Linked DNA regions of Homo sapiens: regions 1 and 3 are each linked to region 2. The links are contacts of gene promoters, found by promoter capture Hi-C in blood cells and fetal thymus (Javierre and others, 2016). All regions are on one chromosome and are shown on one strand. Each heading gives the region's core, a stretch centred on a gene start or on the middle of the fragment in contact. The rest is flanking DNA. Distances are from core to core; before and after follow the strand shown.

Evidence for each region. Contacts are between HindIII fragments. The CHiCAGO score rates a contact against its expected background, and 5 or more counts as called.
Region 1: a fragment that was not itself captured here is called in contact with the fragment with the promoter of VPS35 in region 2 in 4 of 17 cell types (non-activated CD4 T cells, naive CD4 T cells, total CD8 T cells and 1 more); the score reaches 9.1 in non-activated CD4 T cells.
Region 3: a contact is called between a fragment that was not itself captured here and the fragment with the promoter of VPS35 in region 2, in 3 of 17 cell types (naive CD8 T cells, non-activated CD4 T cells and total CD8 T cells). The highest score is 6.0, in naive CD8 T cells.

The regions. Positions count from the first base shown.
Region 1 is chr16:48,303,188-48,305,938 of GRCh38, reverse strand. LONP2 (lon peptidase 2, peroxisomal) reads right to left here. Exons shown (of 15, transcript NM_031490.5): 11 at 2,634-2,751. Among named protein-coding and RNA genes, the nearest start is that of ABCC11, 57 kb to the right of the region's middle. The HindIII fragment of the contact is 4,768 bases long and covers 1-2,751 here.
Region 2 is chr16:46,687,663-46,690,520 of GRCh38, reverse strand. It overlaps VPS35 (VPS35 retromer complex component), which reads left to right and starts at 1,343. Exons shown (of 17, transcript NM_018206.6): 1 at 1,343-1,390. The coding sequence starts at 1,388. It overlaps ORC6 (origin recognition complex subunit 6), which reads right to left and starts at 862. Exons shown (of 7, transcript NM_014321.4): 1 at 751-862. The coding sequence starts at 815. RefSeq lists enhancers at 39-108, 159-238, 476-1,174, 1,175-1,872 and silencers at 579-878, 1,199-1,438, 1,589-1,638. The HindIII fragment of the contact is 9,040 bases long and covers 1-2,858 here.
Region 3 is chr16:48,258,530-48,261,339 of GRCh38, reverse strand. It overlaps LONP2 (lon peptidase 2, peroxisomal), which reads right to left. Exons shown (of 15, transcript NM_031490.5): 4 at 2,600-2,722. Among named protein-coding and RNA genes, the nearest start is that of ABCC11, 12 kb to the right of the region's middle. The HindIII fragment of the contact is 1,394 bases long and covers 758-2,151 here.

The DNA of each region.
Region 1 (2,751 bases), core at 162-2,661, 1.6 Mb before region 2:
TTTCTATAAATGGTAGTCTGAGCATGCGTTTTTACTTCCTGTCTGAATAGTATTAAAATGACAATTAAGAAATAAAAAATATATAAACCCACAAGAACAAAAATAATGACAAAGAGGACATCAGCTGACAAGAGATGCTGACAAAATTTTGGGAAACAAAAAGTACATGGACAAAAAGTAACCAACACTTAACAGGCTAGAGAAAGCAGAAACCTCAACATTTGTGGGGCTAGAGATAGAGAACAACAAGTTGATGTGGGTCCTAAAAGTCTACAAAAGCTAAAGAATTCAAGGTAGCCCTGAAAGCATGGATGAAGAGTGGGACAAAAGGCAAAAGTTTTCTAGATTCTCCCAAGGCAGAGTAAAAATAAAAAATAAAAATAAAGCCAGGCGCAGTGGCTCACACCTGTAATCCCAGCACTTTGGCAGGCTAAGGTGGGCAGATCACCTGAGGTTAGCAGTTGAAGACCAGCCTGGCCAACATGGTGAAACCCTGTCTCTACTAAAAATACAAAAATTAGCCGGGCGTGGTGGCATCCGTCTACAGTACCAGCTACTGGGGAGGCTGAGGCAGGAGAATCACTTGAACCTCGGAGACGGAGGTTGCAGTGAGCCAAGATTGTGCCACCGCAGTCCAGCCTGGACGACAGAGCGAGACTCCATCTCAAAAAGTAAAATAAAATAAAAATAATAAAAATAAAGCACAAGTTTTAAAGTCTGGATAAAATACAATTAGAACTCACTACCTCTACTCCTACTCCACATAATGAAGGCACTGCCTCCCTCCAATCCAACAGAAGATAGGAGCTTCGCTCTCTGGAGAAAATGAACCAGTGAGGTTCCAGGCGTGGGGAGGCAGGGGTGAAGCACTGTACTGGCCACAGAAGGATTCTGTGAAAGCTGACTCTGATGCTACTGCTGTAAAATGCACTGTGTTCAGCGACTGATGGAAAAACAAGAAAGACATTTGGCTGTGTCTGTTCAACTGGGTCCACCATAAATTATGGTTCTTTAATCACAGTCATCCAACTCCTTTCTGGAAACAGCTATGGAAATGATAGAAAAATCTAATAAATCTCTTTACTATGAAAGAAATTGTCAATTCCCTACAACTCATGTTTGTTAAAGCAAGTTTTGGCAAACTGCATAACAGCATGATATGATGAACTGAGACCCCTTACAGTTTTGGGGCAAGAAATTAAAACATTTTATTTTATTTACTTATTTATTTTTTTGAGATGGAGTCTCGCTCCGTTGCCCAGATGGAGTGCAGTGGGCATGACCTTTGCTCACTGCAACCTCTGACTTTTGGGCTCAAGCGATTCTCCTGCCTCAACCTCCAGAGTAGCGGGGACTACAGGCGCCCAACACCACGCCTGGCTAATTTTTGTATTTTTAGTAGAGACGGGGTTTCACCGTGTTGGCTAGGCTGGTCTCAAACTCCTGACCTCAAGTCATCTGCCTGCCTCAACCTTCCAAAGTGCTGGGATCAAAGGCATGAGCCACTGTGCCTGGCCAGTTAAAACATTTTAAGTAGATACCAAAGGAACATCCACATTTGATTAATTCCAGTAATAGAACACCTTCACAATAATTTTTTAAAGAATAATTTAAATTACATTTAGTTGTTTATCCATAAAAGAAAATGTGTGAAAAATTATTACACATGGAGCTATTCCAGAGTACAAAGGTCTGTCCTTGCAGTACCTGAACAGCATGGATTGTCTTATGTTGTAAAAACTTTTTATGTTATAAATTATTTAAAGACTTAACTGTCTGGGTCAGAAAGAAATAAGATAACACCAGAACCCATACATAACGTACACCATCATTATACATCTGGAGAAAGTTACTGTGATGGTTAATAGTGAGTTTCAACTTTGGATTGAAGGATGCAAAGTATTGTTCCAGTGTGTCTGTGAGGATATAGTCAAAGGAGATTAACATTTGAGTCAGCGGACTAGGAGAGGCAGACCCACCCTCAATCTGAGTGGGCACCATCTAATCAGCTTCCAGCATGGCTAGAATAAAGCAGAGAAAAGAAGCTGGAAGGATCAGACTTGCTGAATCTTCTGGCCTTCAGCTTTCTCCCGTGCTGGATGCTTCTTGCCCTCGAATATTGGACTCGAAGTTCTTCAACTTTTGGACTCTTGAACGTACGCCAGTGGTTTGCTGGGGGCTCTTGGGGCTTCGGCCACAGACTGAAGGCTGTACTGTCGGCTTCCCTACTTTTGAGATTTTGGAACTTGGACTGGCTTCCTTGCTCCTCGGCCTGCAGATGGCCTATTGTGGGACTTCACCATGTGATTGTGTGAGTTAATACTCCTTAAACTCTTCTTCATATACACATCTATCCTATTAGTCTTGTCCCTCTAGTGAACCCTAATACAGTTCCTATATCCTCAAAGCATTCATATTATTATTCCAGTTAAAACTGTGCTATTTGTAAAAGACAATCCTCTGGATGAAATATGTTGAAACATTAAGGTATTACTTACTGGATGCATTTAACAGTGGAGTCATGTGTGCCACTGCTCCAAGGACTACCCAACACCTTCCCCTCCATACCCAACCTTCTTCTGTCACTCACTCCTAGCCACCAGGCCTGAGAATGCCAGAACAAGGTCACCAACCTTCTCTCTCAGTCACATCAGAACGGTCCAACTTGGCTTCCTTATGCTGTCCTTCTGCCACCTTCACGGCCACAGCTCGGCAAATGGCCCCAAGTTTTCTATCCAGAGAACGAACCCC
Region 2 (2,858 bases), core at 94-2,593:
TGATATGGCTGTTGCTGGTCCAGGAACCACATTTTGAGAACCACTGTTCTAAATGACTACCGAGTCCTGCAGGTTTGTCTTCAAATCTTTTAAGTGCTGTTTTCCTTGCCTTCCCTCGCCTGACTGCTCCACGTTTTAGCTACAATGGCTTTATTTCGAACCCCGGATCCCGCTTCCCATCTCAACGCTTTTACAGGAGCTGTCGCCCCTGCCTGGGCTGCTCTTGCCATATCTTTCCTCGCCTAGCATCTGCCATCAATCCGGCCTCAGCGGGAACGGCGCCTGCTTTTCCGAGTTTTGTTTGTTTCTTTGTGTTAAAGGCAGCCGCTAGGCCGCGCTCCACCCCAAGCCCAGTGGCTCAGGAGCATTGCCCGGTTAAGGTCTACACAGTCCTCGCCCTTACAGACAGCGGGGTCTGCGCCTCGTTGTCGGGTTCCCCGCTATAAACCCGACTGCAGTAGGCGTTGGCGGAATGAACGGAAAGTTCTCCCTGGCTCATTTTTCTACCCACGGACAGGGCTGGCTGTTCCCAGGGACGTGTGCCATCGCCGTTTGCTATCGCCCTTCTTGCCATCTCATTCAAGCTCACGGCCGAGAAGTTTTTCTTGAAGTAGGCCCTAAACCCCGCCCGGCCCCAGCGCTCCCCGTCACTCCCCCGCCGCCCGTCGCCTGGGAAGGGCGCGGGCCTCACCTGAGGGCCCAGGGCCGCGAGGCGGAAGCCCAGCCCTGGTCTTGCGCGGCCGAACTCACCTCAGCATGTCGGGCTCGGCGAGGCCCAGGCGCGGGGCTAGGCGCCCGATCAGCTCCGACCCCATGGCGCCGGCACTAAAGCGAACAATTCCCGTGAACGCCGCGGGTCAACGAAACCCGCGCGCAAAGGCTGCACCGGCCAGTGAGAGCCAGGCCCCACCCCCGGCGCATCTGGATTGGTTAGGACAGGACGTTGAGACCGTCCCACAAACCAATCAGGGTCTTCCTTTTGCGCATGCGCATCAATAGCGCAATCGCCAACGCAGATGCGGTGAACGTGGACTTGTCGGCTCCCCCTCCTTCCATTCCTTCTTGACAAACTCATCACACACTGCCTTTCCCTCCTGTTGTCTCCTGCCTGCCGCCGGGCGATCCCCACTGCCCTGCACTGCTCCGCCCACTCTCGCACGCTGTGGTGAGATTGGCTGGCGCTCAGGTCCGTCCATCTAGCGTTAAGTGACAGGGCCAATAAGCACGCGAGACTCGGGTTCCTAGAAGTAGGCCAATCAATGAGCCGCCTGTAGGGCCCGGGGGCGGGGCTAGAGAGGGCGGGGCTTGGAGGGGCCGCAGCGTCACATGACCGCGGGAGGCTACGCGCGGGGCGGGTGCTGCTTGCTGCAGGCTCTGGGGAGTCGCCATGGTGAGTGCTGAGGGGGCAGTGGCACCTGGGTCGACCCTCCTTGTAGCCCCTGCTCTCTCCCACCGCCCCGCACTCCAGCGAGTGGAGAAGGGGCCCCACAGACCGTTCGGGATTAAGACCAGCCCGATTTGGCCTGCGGGATAGGGGACAGCAGGAGGAAGGCCGCGGGCAGGCTGATCCGGGCCGGGGTGGGCGGCGGCTCTTGGCTGCGGCCGTTGCTGAGAGACGGGGCGGCCTCTCTGTGGGGTTGACTTGGCATGTAGGCTTTGGGGTCCATGAAGGCCTGCGGCCTCCTTTAAGTGGAATCGGTCACCTGCCTACCACGAGGGGACCGGTAGTCCTAGGTCTGAGCGTCTGGCCCCCGGGGCGCGTGGAGGCCCTGAGACTCGGAGGTGGCGCCGGGACCCGCCCAGATGTTGCGTTTCTACCTTTGTGCCTAGTTGTGCTCGGCCGTCCCCACGCCCTCCTGGAGGGGTCGCAGTGATTCCTTGGCCTTTCTTGGCCTCATACCCGCCTTCGGCTGCAGTGTTTGTCAGCGAGTTCTGGGGACCTGCTTACATGAATTTCCTGGAAGGACTCAGGCTGTCTTCTAATCCTGACGGTCGCAAAGGAGACTGATTGTTTACTTTAGCATTTGTGCATTGGGCGCACCTTGCCTCTTTTGTCTCGCCATTGATAAAATCCAAGTATTTGACTTGCTGGAAGCAGTACTTCTCCTTAGGGCCCGTCTATGACGGCAGCAAATCGTGGTGTGGCTGTTGGCCGGTAAACTTGAACTTCCTCAAAATGTGAATCTTTGTGTCTGGTTCCCACAAAGGCAAGTTGTCACTTGCATTTTATTAGCGTTTAACATAGCCTGCACTGTGTAAATAAATTTTTTGAGTATATACTGTATGTCCGCTTTAATTACCTTACTCACTCTGTGTAGATAGGCTTCTGTAAATCTGTAAGCCTGGAAACAGATTTCACTTTAAATGTCTTAATGCCAGAAAGGATTAAGTGTTTTACAAATACTATTTTCATATAACGTGTTGCCGTACAAGGTGATTTTGCCTGTTTCTCAGGATTTTTATAATTGGGAATTGATACAAGACCGGCGCAAAATTTAACTTTAGGATTTGTGTGTTTCCAGCGTTTATGGATTGACATTTATATTGTTTTGTAATGGAAAACACTTAATTGAGGATGTATTACACACTCCGATTCTTTGTTGGGTGAACCAGTTGGGAGCAATCAGCCAGACACACAGTCTTGTCCTCATGAATTTTATTGGGAAAGGAAACTTGAGTATTCGTTCTTTCACAGTCACTGTCTATAATTTAGGCAGCTCGCTTAGTCTTCTTGGTGTCGCACTTTTGCATCCGAAAGCAAGTGTTGGCGGCCCCTTTGGCCCTTCCCAGCCCTAAAATTCCAGAATCCACTTCAATTCATCAAACATCTTGTGTGCCTTCAGTGTCACGGACTGTGG
Region 3 (2,810 bases), core at 205-2,704, 1.6 Mb before region 2:
TGCTGAATAAATATTTTTATGACTACAGTCTCTATCTTTAGGAAGTGAAGTTCAGAATGATAATCAAAAGGCAGTTGTATACAGAGAGGCAGCAGAATTGCAGAAGTAGACCAACGTAAGGTAGACATGATTCTTTGGTATATGCTTACAATAATACTTGCATGAGAAAACAAATTTCAAGGAACTGGATACTAGAAATAATTAAACCATCTAGGAATTACCTTTCTTTGAGCTACTATTGCAGCCACTATTTTCTTGAAATACATTACTTCTTACCATTTGGTGACTGAAAAAAATTCCATTTTATCTCCTACATTACAAAATTTCTTCCTAGCATCTTCAACCTTTCCACCACTGGCTCTATTTTGTCTTCAAAGCTTTCCTGCTTTCAAAATATTTTTTTCTTACCTCTAGTTTCTTCTAGTTAACTATCGCACTATTTACTTCCTTTCTTGTGAAGTTCTGCTTCTCCAGCAAGTGGCTATAACCACCAGATCCCCTACCTCATCAATTACTTCAGTGAGCCTTCGGCATCTGTTCCCATCCTGCCAAAATTGTTCTTTCAAATCTAAAAAACATATTCTGTGCAAAGTCAAATGGCCTTTGTATTCTCTATGATCTCTCTATCATATGTTAAAACTACCTTATATGCTCCTTGAAATTCATGAATAAACAACCACTACTGGAGCAAAATTATATACTAGCATTTAATTTAAAAGCCCCCAGAACATTTTATTTTTTGAGACAAGGTCAAGCTTTGTAATCCAGGCTGAAGTGCAATGGCATGAACACTGCTTACTGCAGCCTCAACCTCCCTGGCTCAAGTAATCCTTCCACCTCAGCTTCCTAAATAGCTGGGACTACAGACACACACCAGCATGCTGGCTAATTTTTTAAATTTTTTTTGTAAAGATGAGGTCTCACTATGTTGCCCAGCCTGGTCTTGAACTCCTGGCCTCAAGCAATTCTCCTTCCTTGGCCTCCCAAAGTGCTGGGATTACAGGCATGAGCCACTGCATTCAGCCCAGAACTTATTTTTTAACCTGGAAAATTTATCTATTTAATACATTCAAATATAAAAATGTTTAAAACATAAAGCAGTAAATAAAAATTTAATTTTATAAAAACACAAGTACTAAATATATGCTTTTATTCTTACATAAGTCATCAGCAGATAAAATATTATAAATAAAAAACTGAACATATTATATATTTTTTAAAAGTGAGATTTTTATAAGCATATCAGTGATTTCATTGTTAAGACAAAAGCACTTTTTAATGCATTTTTCCTTCCTGACTGCTAAAACAGTGCTTTTCAACTCTTAGGGGAACAAAAAGGAGAGAGTTTTAGGTTAACTCCAAATATTATCCTAATTCCTACTTTTTAAATAACTGTCTCTTGCTTATTTTCTGGAGCACTTTTGAAAAACTTTCATTTTAAGTGATGGCAAACTTTACTGAGAGTAAGTTGCAGTTTTCTGCAACTCCCAGTGGATTTGTCTCTCTATACAAAATGAGTAATTGAGTCCCTGACCTGATCTCAAGCCAGAAATAATCCAGCTTTCTGCATGTTTTAAACAGCATGGTGTCCTGGAGTACTAATCGCCAGCATGATCATCACTGTTCCTATCTCTCTCCTCAGCCTACTTGACTGCCCCTTCTCTAGTCCCACCGGGGAGGAGTTCTTCCCTTCTGCTCCGCTTTCTCTACAATGTATTCTCTTTGATGACAAGACTTCTGCGCTGATGAACGTCAAATTGCTAACATAATTCTCAACGCCTCAACTTAAGTCAGAGCGCTGCATCTCAACACCTTCAGAGAAATGCCATTTTCACATCCTGTCCACATCAAATATATCTTCCTAATATAAACTCTGTCCAGACATAAAAATAGTAAAATCAGCAGATCAAGGTAGACTTCAAACAGATCCCATCATACATATAAATGTAATAGATGATAATGGGGATGGGAAGGATTATTTAATTAGTGGTGTTGAGTCAAACAAAAAGCTATTTGAGGGAAAAATACAACTGCTGTCTTCAAAATAATATATGGGTTAAAGAATTAAATACTTTTTAAAAAATCAACTAAAATTAAACTGAAAGGAAAGTGAATATTTATCAAGCCACTGAAGGTTAGAGGACTTAAGCTTAGAAAACAAAAAAAGATCAAGAGTTTGACTAAATAAAAATGGAAACTTATTATAAGTTGAAAACAGCCAAATTTTGACACAACATATAGTCCTTTTAAGAAAGAGTTTTGTATTAGTTTCTTAGTATTACATGCAGTAAAAAAATGTTATACTCAAAGACACCCATCATAGTTATTTGTTAGTGTTTACAATACACAAAACATTGGAAACAACACAAAAGGGGAAATGGCTCAGTAAATTATCCTTTTGGATGATAACCAAAACAAAGTGAGAAAAATGCTTACATGCTTTAAAAAAAAATCCAGGCAAAGAAAAGGATGAGAGGGAAACACCTAAATTTTATCAGTAGTGCGAGTGGTAGGAGACAATAAACTTTTCTTCTTTGTTCCTCTCTTTATTCTCCTTATTTTTTTTTCAAAACTGAAATGGGTTAAAATAAATATTTACCCTCTTATCATCATCTTGCTTGGGTTTTCTGGTTTTTTGAAGCAATTTCAGGCCTTCAATTTGTCTGACAAGCAGTGGTATAGTCATCTTGAACCGCTCCTCTAGGCTCACAGCATCTAAAATCTAAGGAAATGTGAGTCAATCAATAGGATCTCTCTCAGAAACACACAATCCAAAAACAGACAGTCAGAGCCATGGTTTAAATTGCCAA